Linked DNA regions of Homo sapiens: region 2 is linked to region 1. The links are contacts of gene promoters, found by promoter capture Hi-C in human tissues and cell types (Jung and others, 2019). All regions are on one chromosome and are shown on one strand. Each heading gives the region's core, a stretch centred on a gene start or on the middle of the fragment in contact. The rest is flanking DNA. Distances are from core to core; before and after follow the strand shown.

The links. The method cuts DNA at HindIII sites, captures the fragments that hold promoters and counts their contacts. A contact is called where the count stands out against the background at its distance.
Region 2: a contact is called between a fragment that was not itself captured here and the fragment with the promoter of NPTX1 in region 1, in 2 of the 25 tissues and cell types used here (IMR-90 fibroblasts and lymphoblastoid cells).

The regions. Positions count from the first base shown.
Region 1 is chr17:80,472,846-80,479,057 of GRCh38, reverse strand. NPTX1 (neuronal pentraxin 1) reads left to right here and starts at 2,451. Exons shown (of 5, transcript NM_002522.4): 1 at 2,451-3,055; 2 at 3,340-3,547; 3 at 5,614-5,858. The coding sequence starts at 2,612. RefSeq lists an enhancer at 3,464-3,997. The HindIII fragment of the contact is 30,247 bases long and covers 1-6,212 here.
Region 2 is chr17:81,013,967-81,020,178 of GRCh38, reverse strand. LOC124904078 (a long non-coding RNA gene) reads left to right here. Exons shown (of 2, transcript XR_007065934.1): 1 at 1-1,733; 2 at 1,831-2,210. It overlaps LOC124904077 (translation initiation factor IF-2-like), which reads right to left. Exons shown (of 1, transcript XM_047437254.1): 1 at 6,162-6,212. Among named protein-coding and RNA genes, the nearest start is that of BAIAP2-DT, 18 kb to the left of the region's middle. The HindIII fragment of the contact is 4,495 bases long and covers 393-4,887 here.

The sequences.
Region 1 (6,212 bases), core at 1,202-3,701:
TTTCAGAACACTGGGGAGGCCGAGGGAATCCTAAATACGACCCTCCGCTTGCCCAGGGTCTTGTGAAGGAGAAACGCGGCATGGTGGCCCTCGCGTGTGTGTGCAGCGCCTGCAGGTGTCCCGCCCAGCGCCTCCTGCACAACAGTTGCAGGCTGGACCCGAGGGTCTCCTCTCCTGGGGCCCCACAGTGCCCAGAGGTCCCGCTAGCCCCAGACACCGCCCCAGGCTCCCCTCCCTTTCTGACGCCGTCCACTCCCTTCCTCTGCGGAAGGGGGACACGCTCCTCTGTGCCGAGGTGCCAGGCCGCTGAGATCTGCTGCCCTGGAGGAAAAGCCAGGCAGGGTCCCTGGCCTTGGGCGGCTAGGAAGGCTCCACGGCTGCTGGGGATAGAGACGCGGGGCCAGGCTAAGGGTTCCCGCCCCGTCTAAACAGCCTGCCCTGGGCAGGGCAGGGCTCCTCTCCCGCGCCCGCGCGCTCTCGGCTGGGCACGGTCCGGCTCCAGGCCTGACGGGCGCGGCCTCCCCACTGGACGCGTGCGGGAGGGCGGCGAGGCCAAAGCGCTGGGGCCAGGAGGGCACCCGCCTAGCGGCTCCCTACGGGAGTTGGGGCAGAAGACGCCGCGACCCCGCGCGGGTAATTTCTCCCGAGGCGCGTTCCAGCCCGTGGCGCTGCCGGCGCAGACCCCGCGTGGGGACCGGCGAGGCTAACCCCTCCTGCGGCCCGGGGTCGGCAGAGCACGCAAGGGGCCGCGGGCCGCGTGGGTTTGGGCGCGCCGTGGTGGGCAAGCGGGGCCAGCGGAGCGGGAACCCGCACACCCTCCGAGCGGAGCCGAGGACAGGCCCGTGCGGGCCGCGGGGTCCCTCTGGCGCCAGGAAGCGGCGGCCGAAGGAGACAACGAGAACGCAGCCCCGGCTCAGGGAGGCTTAAAAGCTGAGATGCTGAACGCAGACGGCGGGCGCTCGGGGGCTGGGGGGCGGGTAGAGGCCGCCATTTCTCAAAAAGGTCTCCATCGAGCCGGCCTCTGCTCCCGCCCGAGGGGCGGACGCCCGATCCCGGCACCCGGGACTGCCCGTGGGTCCCTGCTGGCTGGGGACCCCCAGCCCCCGGCTGCGCGCAGGGAAAGGCTGCAGAACGCAGAGACCAGAGAAGCCGGGGGCGGCGGGGAGGGGTCGGGGGGCCACGGCTGTAGCCCGGCCCCGCAGTCTCGGAGCCTCAGTTTCCTTCTCTGTACCACGGGAGCGTGGACGGAGGGATTTCCGAGGCTTTGACCGCTCTGATAGCCCCGGGGCGGGGCGGGGCGGGGCGGCTGCGCCAGCCCTGGTCCTGAGCCCCCAGCCCGGCGCCGGAACCCGGACCGCGATCTCGGGAGCCGAGCCCCGCGGTCCAGATGAAGGCGCGAGTGCGCGGGTGCCGGGTGGGGTGTCTGAGCGAGAGCGGAGCTTCTCAGGTGGACGCCCCCAGCCACCTCCGGGACCCTTCCTGCTGGCCTTTGGGCCTGAGAAGTGGGCGCGGCTGGACAGACGGGAAACAGCCCCCCACGCACAGGTGGACACCCGGGGATACCGGGCGCGCGCGGCGCCTGGCAAGGGGAAGCTGCTGGAGACGCGGGCGGCTGCTCCCGCGGGGCCCCCTTCCGAAGCGCCGCTGCGAACGTCCAGCCCCGGCGACGCCGCCTGCCCGCGATCGGGCCGGCGCCGCGGACAGGAAAGGCTCGATCAGCTAGGTCTGCCTCCGAGAAGTCCCCAGCGCCCCGCCCGCACGGGGTGGGGACTGACAGTCCCCCGGGGACGGGGCCGGGTCCACAGAGCCCGGGAGCTGGGGGAGGGGAGGCGCCGGGGGCCCCGACCCGTGGGAAGTCCCTGTACCCAGGCTGCCCGGCGGCTTCTCAATAGCACACGGACATCTAAGAAACGCGGGGCGGCCCGGTGACCCCCGCTCTGGACTTAGTGGCGCCGCGAGGCCCCACTCCGAGCCGTTGACCACCGGGCACTCGGGTGTTGACGACCTGGGTCCTTGGGCACCCAGCCCGGCTCCAAACGACCCCGGCCCAAGGGTGTTCAGTGCAGCCAGGAGGGCCGAACCGAATTCTATCTCCCGGACGCGGTGGTTTCCCGCCCGCCTGGAGCCCCGTCGGAGGTTCGGGGACACCACGCAGGTGGTCCATCCTCGAGTCCGGGGCCGGAGCCCGACTTCCTTCCCCCTGAGCTCTCGGAGCCTTCGGGGCAGCAGCGCCGGCCCAGGCGGGGGCGGGGGAGGAGGGGGCCGCGGCAGCTCCCAGAAGGGCGGGGGGGACGCGAGCGGAGGCAGCCCCGGTGGCGCGCTCGTGAGACCCCCGCCGCGCCGCGGGCCCGGGCCGCGGACAATTAAAGCGGGATTCCTCCCCCGCTGACGTCGGCGGCTCGAGGCCCCTCCCGCGGCGGCATAAAAGGCGCGGGCTCCGCAGCGCAGGCGGCAGTGGGGGCCTGATAGCGCGGCGGTGTGGACCGCGCGGCCGAAGAGCGCGGCGCCCAGAGCGCGGGCCGCTCGCGGAGCCACAGCCCGAGCCGGGTCCCAGCCGGAGCCGAGCCCCAGCCGAGCCGAGCCGGGCCCGGAGCGCCCGGTGCCCGCAGCCATGCCGGCCGGCCGCGCCGCGCGCACCTGTGCGCTGCTCGCCCTCTGCCTCCTGGGCGCCGGGGCCCAGGATTTCGGGCCGACGCGCTTCATCTGCACCTCGGTGCCCGTGGACGCCGACATGTGCGCCGCGTCCGTGGCCGCCGGCGGCGCCGAGGAGCTCCGGAGCAGCGTGCTGCAGCTCCGCGAGACGGTGCTGCAGCAGAAGGAGACCATCCTGAGCCAGAAGGAGACCATCCGCGAGCTGACCGCCAAGCTGGGCCGCTGCGAGAGCCAGAGCACGCTGGACCCCGGAGCCGGCGAGGCCCGGGCGGGCGGCGGCCGCAAGCAGCCCGGCTCGGGCAAGAACACCATGGGCGACCTGTCCCGGACACCGGCCGCCGAGACGCTCAGCCAACTCGGGCAAACTTTGCAATCGCTCAAAACCCGCCTGGAGAACCTCGAGGTCCGCGCGCGCCCTCGGCTCCGGTTCCCCCTCCGGCTCGCTCGCCCCTCTGCCCTCCCCCACCCCGTTCCCTACCCGGCCAGGCATCCCCCGCCCTCGCCTCAGCCGCGCGGGTGCCCGGCCGGTGCCTCCCCGCGCCTGCGAGGCCCCGCGGCGGCCACTCGCCCCAGCTCCCTGCCAGGCCGCCCCCGCAGTCGCCCAGAGGGGACCGCGCCGCGGGCCTTCCAGCACGGTCCCCGCGCCTCGCCTAACGGTGTGGTTTCCCCCGCCCTTGCACCCCGCAGCAGTACAGCCGCCTCAATTCCTCCAGCCAGACCAACAGCCTCAAGGATCTGCTGCAGAGCAAGATCGATGAGCTGGAGAGGCAGGTGCTGTCCCGGGTGAACACCCTGGAGGAGGGCAAGGGGGGCCCCAGGAACGACACCGAGGAGAGGGTCAAGATCGAGACCGCCCTGACCTCCCTGCACCAGCGGATCAGCGAGCTCGAGAAAGGTACTGGGGCCAGGGGGAGCCGTGCTGCCTGCCTGCACCTGCTTGCCCGACCCTGCCTCGGTCCCGATCCCTAACAGCCCAGCTCTGCACTGTGCAAGCCTCAAGCCGCTCCGCTACCCCCAACCCCTGCACCGCTTTCTCATTCCCCGCACCCCTTCCCAGGTTCTGGGCTTCTAGTCGGTGTTTCTATCAGGGCTGGGTGCCTTGGGCTGGGGCTGTCTCTGGGAAAGGGGATTGCATAGTGCCCCCTCCCCCATCCAGACACACTCACACACTCGCTGGATTTTTCAAGTCTGATTTGTTTAATCCTCAGTAACTTTGCACAGTGGCTGTCGCTGGCTCAAACCCTCCCTGCTTAAGAAAGCCTGTCTCTCCCTGGTCCCCAGCCTCAGCGTACAGCTGGGTGCAGGCTGGGGCTGGGCGCTCTCGTTCCCCGGGCCGCTGAGGCTGTTAAGCAGGTTTCTTCCCGGCTGCCATGCCCCCGGTGTCCTCTCAGGATCTCCAGCTCCTCCCCACTTCTGTCCTGAACCCCTACCCTGAGGTTTTCTTTTCTGAGTGACCCAAGTCCTGGCATCTTTCAAATCCCTGAGGTTTCTCAGTCACCAACTCAGGCCAGCCAGTCTATCACCCAGGGCGCCTGGATGAGCGCTGGAGGCTCTGTCTTGAAGTCGCAGAAATCAAACAAGGTTGTAAAAGGGGAGGGGGGGGGGTGCCCGGTGCGGAGCAAGGCCACGTGACCCTGCTCAGACCGCAAAATGTGCCGGACAGATTTAAACAGTGCCATCTTAAGGCTTGTTATGTAACTGAAAAACAGATCAGAAGGAAGGACCTCAGGAGGGAGGGAGAGGGAAGGAGCGGAGATTGGGGAATGAAAAACACCCGGAGAAAGGCCAGGGGCTGGGCCCCTCCCTATCCCCCACTGCAGGCCTCAATGGGTTGGGGTAGCCGCTGGGGTGCTGCACTGAGGGGGCCTGCCCTGCTCTGCTCCCTGCCAGTTGGTTTAGAGGAGGGGGTGGTTGCTGACCGGGCAGGATGTCTTCTAGAAATAATTTTTGGCCTGGGGAACTGGTTTCTTTCTGGGCTTCCTGGCAGGACCACGGCTGCTCACCCAGGGATTGACCAAGGGGTGTGTGTTCCTGGGCTCTGGGCCTGCTACTGTGCCCATTGCTGGCCAGGAATGTTTTGCCTGGAGTCAGTCACACCATACCCAGGGTGCCACAGTATATAGATGGGCTATGGGGGTTGGCGCTTACGGGAGAAGTGGCCGGTGGGGAGGGAGAAGGTGGGCCTTGTGGAAAGGGAGGCCACCAGGCCTGGAACCTGAGCTGTGAGGACACTTACTCACCTGAGAGTGTGGCGGCATCCTAGAGCAGTCACCTTGGGGAGCCCTGGCGCCCAGAGTACTCCCAGCTCCTTGCTGCCCTGCCCTCTCAGCAGAGCTCCAGGCAGAGTCCCTGCTCCAAGGAAGGGCCTTGGAGGTGGGGAGCTGCCCAGCCTCACACCCAAGAGGCATTGGTGGGTCAGAGGCACATCTGGCCTGGAGGGAAGTGTGTGGGCACCAGGGCCTGGCTGTCGGGTGGGGAGAGGCAGGAGCAGAGCCTGGGATTGAGCGAGGAGAGGCTCTGAGCCCCGCCCCATCCTGGAATCAGGTCGGTTACTCTCAGGGTAGCTAGCCTCGTTCCTCCTCTGCAGCCACCCCTGCTCCTTGGGTTGACTTGGCTTGGCGGCTGTCCCCATTCCCTTCTCATGCCCACCACGCAGCCCAGTGTTGATGCAGCAGCCCACCAGGCACTGCCCCCCACCCCCATCTCCCCAAGGATGCCAGCACATGGGCGTGACAGCAGGCCAGACCTGGAGCATGAAGAGCTTGGGTCAGCTCTTTACAGACTGGCCCTGTGCCTTGGGGCAAAGTACTTGACCTGGGAAGCTACCCGCTCTGCGTCTCCAGAATGGAGACCGGAGCCTGCCCTGGCCACGCATCACAGAGCTTGGTGGGGACCGAACTCAACTCAGACACCGATAAGCACTTCACGCAGGTGCAGATGTCAGGACTGTGTCTTCCGCAGGTCAGAAAGACAACCGCCCTGGAGACAAGTTCCAGCTCACATTCCCACTGCGGACCAACTATATGTATGCCAAGGTGAAGAAGAGCCTGCCAGAGATGTACGCCTTCACTGTCTGCATGTGGCTCAAGTCCAGCGCCACGCCAGGTGTGGGCACGCCCTTCTCCTACGCTGTGCCCGGCCAGGCCAACGAGCTGGTCCTCATTGAGTGGGGCAACAACCCCATGGAGATCCTCATCAATGACAAGGTAGAGCAGCCCCCGGGCTCACAGGGCGGCAGGGCGAGGCCCCAGGGCCCCAGCTCATGTTGCATGCGGAGACAGGGCTATGGTGGCCTCAGATGTTGATGGGGCCCCAAGGAAAGTGTTTGCCAGGTGGGACTGAGGGAGGGGGAGGGTGAAGACCAGGAGAAGTGGTAGGAGCCCCCTCACCTGTACTGGGAGAGCAGGGAGAGCTGGACCTTCCCGGATGCCTCCTGGGGTGGGTACGGGAGATGGCGGAGAACGAGCCATGGGGCCTGGCCCTGCCCGATGATGTGATCTGGACTCCTCCACCAGCTGGCCTTGGAACTGGCTTTGCCCCTCCATAGCAGGGACCCAGAG
Region 2 (6,212 bases), core at 1,391-3,890, 540 kb before region 1:
CTCCAGATCTGTGGCTCCAACCGCCTACCTGACAGTCGCCAAGCAGACCCCCTGCCAGGTCGCAGCCTCGGGCCATGGTCCCTCCGTATCCCCACACATACAGCTGGGAACCTTGGTGTTACCCTTTCTGTTTCCTCTTCCTTCACTCTCCTCCCCTGACCCCCAGCCTAGCCCCCATGTCTTGTCAACTTTGAGCTCCTGAATCTGTCTACCCACCTCCGGGCCCCGGACCCCTCCACCCCGGACCTGGGAAAAGGCCCCTTACCTGATCCCCAGAAGCCCTTGGCCTGTCCAAACCCGTCTCCATACTCAGTGAGGTTTTCCAAGTACAGATCTGACTGAAGTCCCCTGCGGCAGCCCTGTGCTGACATCCATTGCCCCAAGGATAAAGACCTGGGTCCTCAGTCCCTCCACAGCAGCCTGCACCCAAGTCCCCTCGCTGAGCTCCAGCCACTGGCCCCGCTGGGCAGAAGTGACCATGTGATACAGAGCTCCCGCCTCCCCGGAGTGGGGTGAGAATCTAAGATCCCCGCTTCCCCAGGGCTGTGCAAGAGGCTGAACACCTGTGTGGACCTGTCTGCCCTTTGCCCCCACACGCTAGCTGACAGTAAGCCCCCCAGGCAGGCACACAGGAGAAGGATAAAAAAGGAGACCCCCGTGAACTGCTCAGAACAGGCTCAGCCCCAGGGGGCCTCTGCCCCCACCTCCCCACGCTCTATGGTTCTCTCTCCATGAGGTCCAGGGCCTCCCAAGACCTTCAGGTACTAAACAGCCTTTGGTCACTTTGGTCACAGCAGCTTCATTTACTGGGTGATTCTCAGTGTGATAACTGGAACTCGGCCTGACTCACCCAGGATTAAACCTCTCCCGGCTGCCTTGTGCTCAGACCTGCCATGGCAGGAAAACTTGGGGTTTGCAGATTCTTAAATGTTTTGTGTTATAAGCCGGGAGCGGTGCCTCACACCTGTAATCCCAGCACTTTGGGAGGCTGAGGCGGGCGGATCACCTGAGGTCGGGGATTCGAGACCAGCCTGACCAACATGGAGAAACCCCGTCTCTACTAAAAATACAAAATTAGCCAGGCATGGTGGCGCATGCCTGTCATCCCAGCTACTAGGGAGGCTGAGGCAGGAGAATCGATTGAACCTGGGAGGCGGAGGTTGCGGTGAGCCAAGATTGCGCCATTGCACTCCAGCCTGGGCAACAAGAGTGAAACTCCGTCTCAAAAAAAAAAAAAGTTTTGTGTTATATGGATTCCAGTTCTCAGCTGAAAAATCTCCACCTTTTCATCTACTTTCTCCCTTGCTTCCTCCATCTAAACAAAAACGCACAGAGTTCGAACTCTAAACAAAAACTCACAGAGAGTTCAGGGGTTCTCTGCTGCGACTTCCACTCTCTGGCTTTGTGTGCATCCGTTTCCACGGGCTATTTTTCCTCTTGATTTTTGGCCCTGTGGTCTCTGAATGCTGGATGTCATGCGCTGAAGCCTGGAGACTCCAGATCCGGGGTCAGCAAACTGCAGCGGGGGGCAGCCGCCTGCTTTTGTGAACGCAGCGTATTGAAACACACCCATGCCCATTTGTTCACAGATGCTCTGTGGCTGCGTGTGCCCTACAGCAGCACGGTTCAGTAGGCAGAGGCCACTTCTACTACCCGGCTAAGGAAAAGATGGGCAGAGCCTGCTCTGGATGACGCTGTGTTCCAGCCGGCGGAGAGGGTCCCCCATTTCCTCGGTAAGGAGGGTGACCTCCTCGCTCCAATCAGGGACTGAGCTGAGCTGAGGACAAGCTGCCCTTTCGGTGAGCCTATCTCTGTGTTGCTTGTTTCTAGGAACTAATCCTCCAGGAAATTAACAGACAGTTTGCTGTGGACAACTAGAGCCCTCCCCTTCCTTAGCCCTGAGCGAGGTAAACAATTCTGCTCTGCCTTCCGGAAGTTTCAAATTAGCTCTTCAACCAGCGTTTTCACGCAGCTTCCAGTCCTGCCACAGTCTTGAAGAAGAGATCAGCTTTCGCGTCTTCATTCTTGCCAAGATTAGCTGCCCTTCGAATCTCCCGTGTGTCATTAATCCCAGCACGAACAAGCACTTGGGAACTGCGGGCTGCAGATGGTCTGCTTATCCTACGGAACCCTCCTCTTTTGAGGCTTAACCCCTTTAGTCTTTGTTGCTTCTGTAGCTTTCTGATGCCATTAAAGAGATGATTTTTATATTTTTGCCTGGCCTTTCTAGTTCTTAGTGGGAGCCTTGATCTGCTGCACTCCATCCTACTTGGAAGTAGAAGTCTGTTTCCCCATGTTTAAAATGTTAATTTCAGGCCACGCACAGTGGCTCATGCCTATAATCCTAGCACTTTAGGAGGCCAAAGTGGGAGGGTCACTTGAGCCCAGGAGTTCCAGATCAGCCTAGGAAACACGGGGAGACCTCACCTTAAAGAAAAAAAAAAAAAAAAGGCATGCACTGAGCATGGTGGTGCATGCCTGTAGTCTCACTTACTCAGGAGGCCGGGGCAGGAGGATCACTTGAGCCCAGGAGTTTGAGGTTACCATGAGCTATGGTTGCATGACTGCACTCCGGCCTGGGCAACAGAGCAAGACCCTATCTCTAAAAAAATAAAAATAAAATAGGCTGGGTGCAGTGGTTCACATCCATAATCCTAGCACTTTGGCAGGCCAAGGCAGGAAGATCGCTTGAGCCCAGGAGTTCAAGACCAGCCTGGGCAGCATAGTGAGACCCTGTTTCTAAAAAAAGATATTAGCTGGCCATTGTGGCACATACCTGTACTTAGGAGGCTGAGGCCAAAGGATCACGTGTACCCAGGAGTTTGAGGCTGCAGTGAGCTGTGATCATGCCGCTGCACTCAGCCTGGGCAACAGAGGAAGACTCTGTCTCTAAAAATGTAAGTCAATAAAAATAAATAAAATGTTAATTTCAGTTTCCAATTGTTCCTTGCTAGCAAATAGAAATACACATTTCATTTTGTACACTGACCTAGTATTCTGTGATGTTCTAATTTGTTCTAGTAGACTCCTTTGAGATTTTCTATGTAGTCATGCTGTCCACAAATAGAGACAGTTGTGTATTTATTCCTTCCCAATATGTGTTCATTTTATTATTTTCTTGCTTATTACACTGAACGGGGCCTCCAGTATGATGCTGAATAGATGTGGTGACAGCAGACGCCCTTGCCTTGTTTCCTTCCTTATGGGGAAAGCATCCAATCTTTTATCATTAAGTGTGATGTTATCTGTAGGGTTTTTGTGATGCCTTCTGAAAAGTTAAGGAAGTTGTTTTTTATTCATAGTTTGCTAAGAGTTTTTATCACAAACGGATGTTGAATTTTGTCAAATTCTTTTCCTGCATCTATTGAGATATCATAAGATTCTTTTTTTTGTAGTCTGTTGATACGATGAATGATACTGATGTTTGAAGGTTGAACCAACCTTGCATTTCCAGGATAAACCTCATTTTGTTTGTCCCAGAATAAATAGATTACTTCAGGATAAAGACTCATTTTTATATATTGCTGGATTATTTGCTAATAATGAGTTGAGGATTTTGCATCTAGGTTCATATGGGATATTGGTCTGTTTGCTTTTCTTGTAATGGCCTTATGTGGTCTTAGGGTCAAGGTAATGTTGAACTCATAAAAGGAATTGCAAAGTGTTCTCTCCTCTTCTATTTTCTTTAAGAGTTTGTGTAGAATTGGTATTAAGTCTTCCTTAAATGTTTGGTAGCATTTAATAGACATATGACAATTTGGTTTACCTATTTAATCTTGAGTGAACTTTGGCAGTTTGAGTCTTTCAAGGAATTTTCCCATTAAATCTAAATTGTCAAATTTATGAGCATAAAACTGTTTGTAATATTTCATATTTACTTTTTTCTTTCTTTCTTTTTTTTTTTTTTTTTGAGATGGAGTCTCACTCTGTCACCCGGGCTGGAGTACAATGGCGTGATCGTGGCTCACTGCAATCTCCACGTCCTGTGTTCAAGTGATTCTTCTGCCTCAGCCTCCCAAGTAAGTGGGATTACAGGTGTCTGCCACCATGCCCGGCTATTTTTTTTGTATTTTTAGAAGAGATGGCATTTCACTATTTTGGCCAGGCTGGTCTCAAACTCCTGACCTTGTGATCCACCCGCCTCGACCTCCCAAAGTGCTAGGATCACAGGCGTGAGCCACCGTGCCCAGCTGTAATATTTCCTTAATATCTTTTTCATGTCTATAGGGTCTGGGGTGGTGTTCCCACTTTCATTGCTAATGTTGTAATTTGTATCTTCTCTTTTTTTCCTGATCACTCTAGCTTGAAGCTTTTCAAATTTATTGATATTTTCAAATAACCAGTTTTTGCTTTCACTGATTTTTCTCTGATGTTCTGTTTTCATTTCTGCTGATGTCCACTCACTATTGTTTCTTTTCTCCTGCTTGCTTTGGATCTGCTCTTCTTTTTTGAATTAATTAAGGTGAAAGTTTAGCTAACTGATTTCAGACTTTTCTTCTACCTTAACATAAGCATTTAATATTCTAAGTTTTCCTCTAAACACTGTTTTAGCAAGAATCCATAAATGTTAATATGTTTAGTTTTCATTTTCTTTCAGTTAGAAACAGCCTCTAAATTCCCTTGTGATTTTCTATTTAACTCACAGGTTAATTTAATATTTGTGGATTTTCCAGATAGCTCTTTGTTACTGGCTTTTGGATTGATATTATGGTCAGAGAACATGCTTTGTGTGAGTTCAATTCCTTTAAATTAGTTAAGGTTTATTTCATGGTCCAGAACATGATATGTCTTGGTAAATGTCCAATATGCACTTGAATAGAATGTGTATTCTGCTGTTGCTGGGTGGAATGTTCTATAAATGTCAGCTGAGTCAAACCAGTTAACAGTGTTCAGGTGTCCTATATCCTTCATGATTTTCTATTTATTCTCTCAATTACTGAAAGAGGGGCCAGGAACAGTAGACTATGCCTGTAATCGCAGCATTTTGGGAGGCCAAAGCAGGAGGTTCACTTGAACCCAGGAGTTCAAGACCAGCCTGGGTAACATGACAAGAGCCCGTCTCTACAAAAATAAAAAAATTAGTGGCCGGGTGCGGTGGCCCACGCCTGTAATCCCAGCACTTTGGGAGGCCGAGGCGGGCGGATCACGAGGTCAGGAGATCGAGACCATCCTGGCTAACACGGTGAAACCATGTCTCTACTAAAAATACCAAAAATTAGCCGGGTGAGGTGGCGGGCACCTGTAGTCCCAGCTACTCAGGAGGCTGAGGCAGGAGAATGGCGTGAACCCGGGAGGTGGAGCTTGCAGTGAGCCGAGATCACGCCACTGCACTCCAGCCTGGGCGACAGAGCGAGACTCTGTCTCAAAAAAAAAAAAAATTAGCTAGGTGTGGTGGCATGTACCTATAGTCCCAGCTGCTCGGGAGGCTGAGGCAGAAGGATCACTTGAGCCCAGGAGGTTGAAGCTTCAGTGAGCCATGTTTGTGCCACTGCACTCCAGCGTGGGTGACAGAGCAAGACCCTGACTAAAAACAACAACAAAATACTGAAAGAGGAGGGTGAAAGTCTCTAACTGTAAGAAATTGTTTTACCTTTCATTTCTGTTAGTTTTTGCTTCATGTGTTTTGAAATTCTATTGTTAGGTGAATACACAATTTGGATTGTTTTGCCTTCTTTTATTATTGAGTAATGTCTCTCATTATCCCTGTTGATATTTGTTTTGAATATACATTGCCTGATATTAACACAACTACTCCATCTTTCTTTTGATTAGGGTTTCTGTGATATATTTTCCCCATCCTTTTACTTGTTTGTTCTGAGATGCAGTCTGGCTCTGCTGCCCAGGCTAGAGTGCAGTGGTGTGATCTTGGCTCACTGCAACCTCCCCATCCTGGGTTCAAGTGATTCTCCTGCCTCAGCCTCCTGAGTAGCTGGGATTACAGGTGCACGCCACCATGCCCGACTAATTTTTGTATTTTTAGTAGAGATGGGGTTTCACCATGTTGACCAGGCTGGTCTTGAACTCCTGACCTCAAGTGATCTGCCTGCCTCAGCCTCCCAAAGTGCTGGGATTACAGGAATGAGCCATCACTCCCGGCCTGTTGATTGTCTTTTTGTATTAGGTCATTCTTGCACTGCTATAAAGAAATACCTGAGACGGGGTCATTTATAAAGAAAGGCTTATTGGTTCGTGGTTCAGCAGGCTGTACAGGA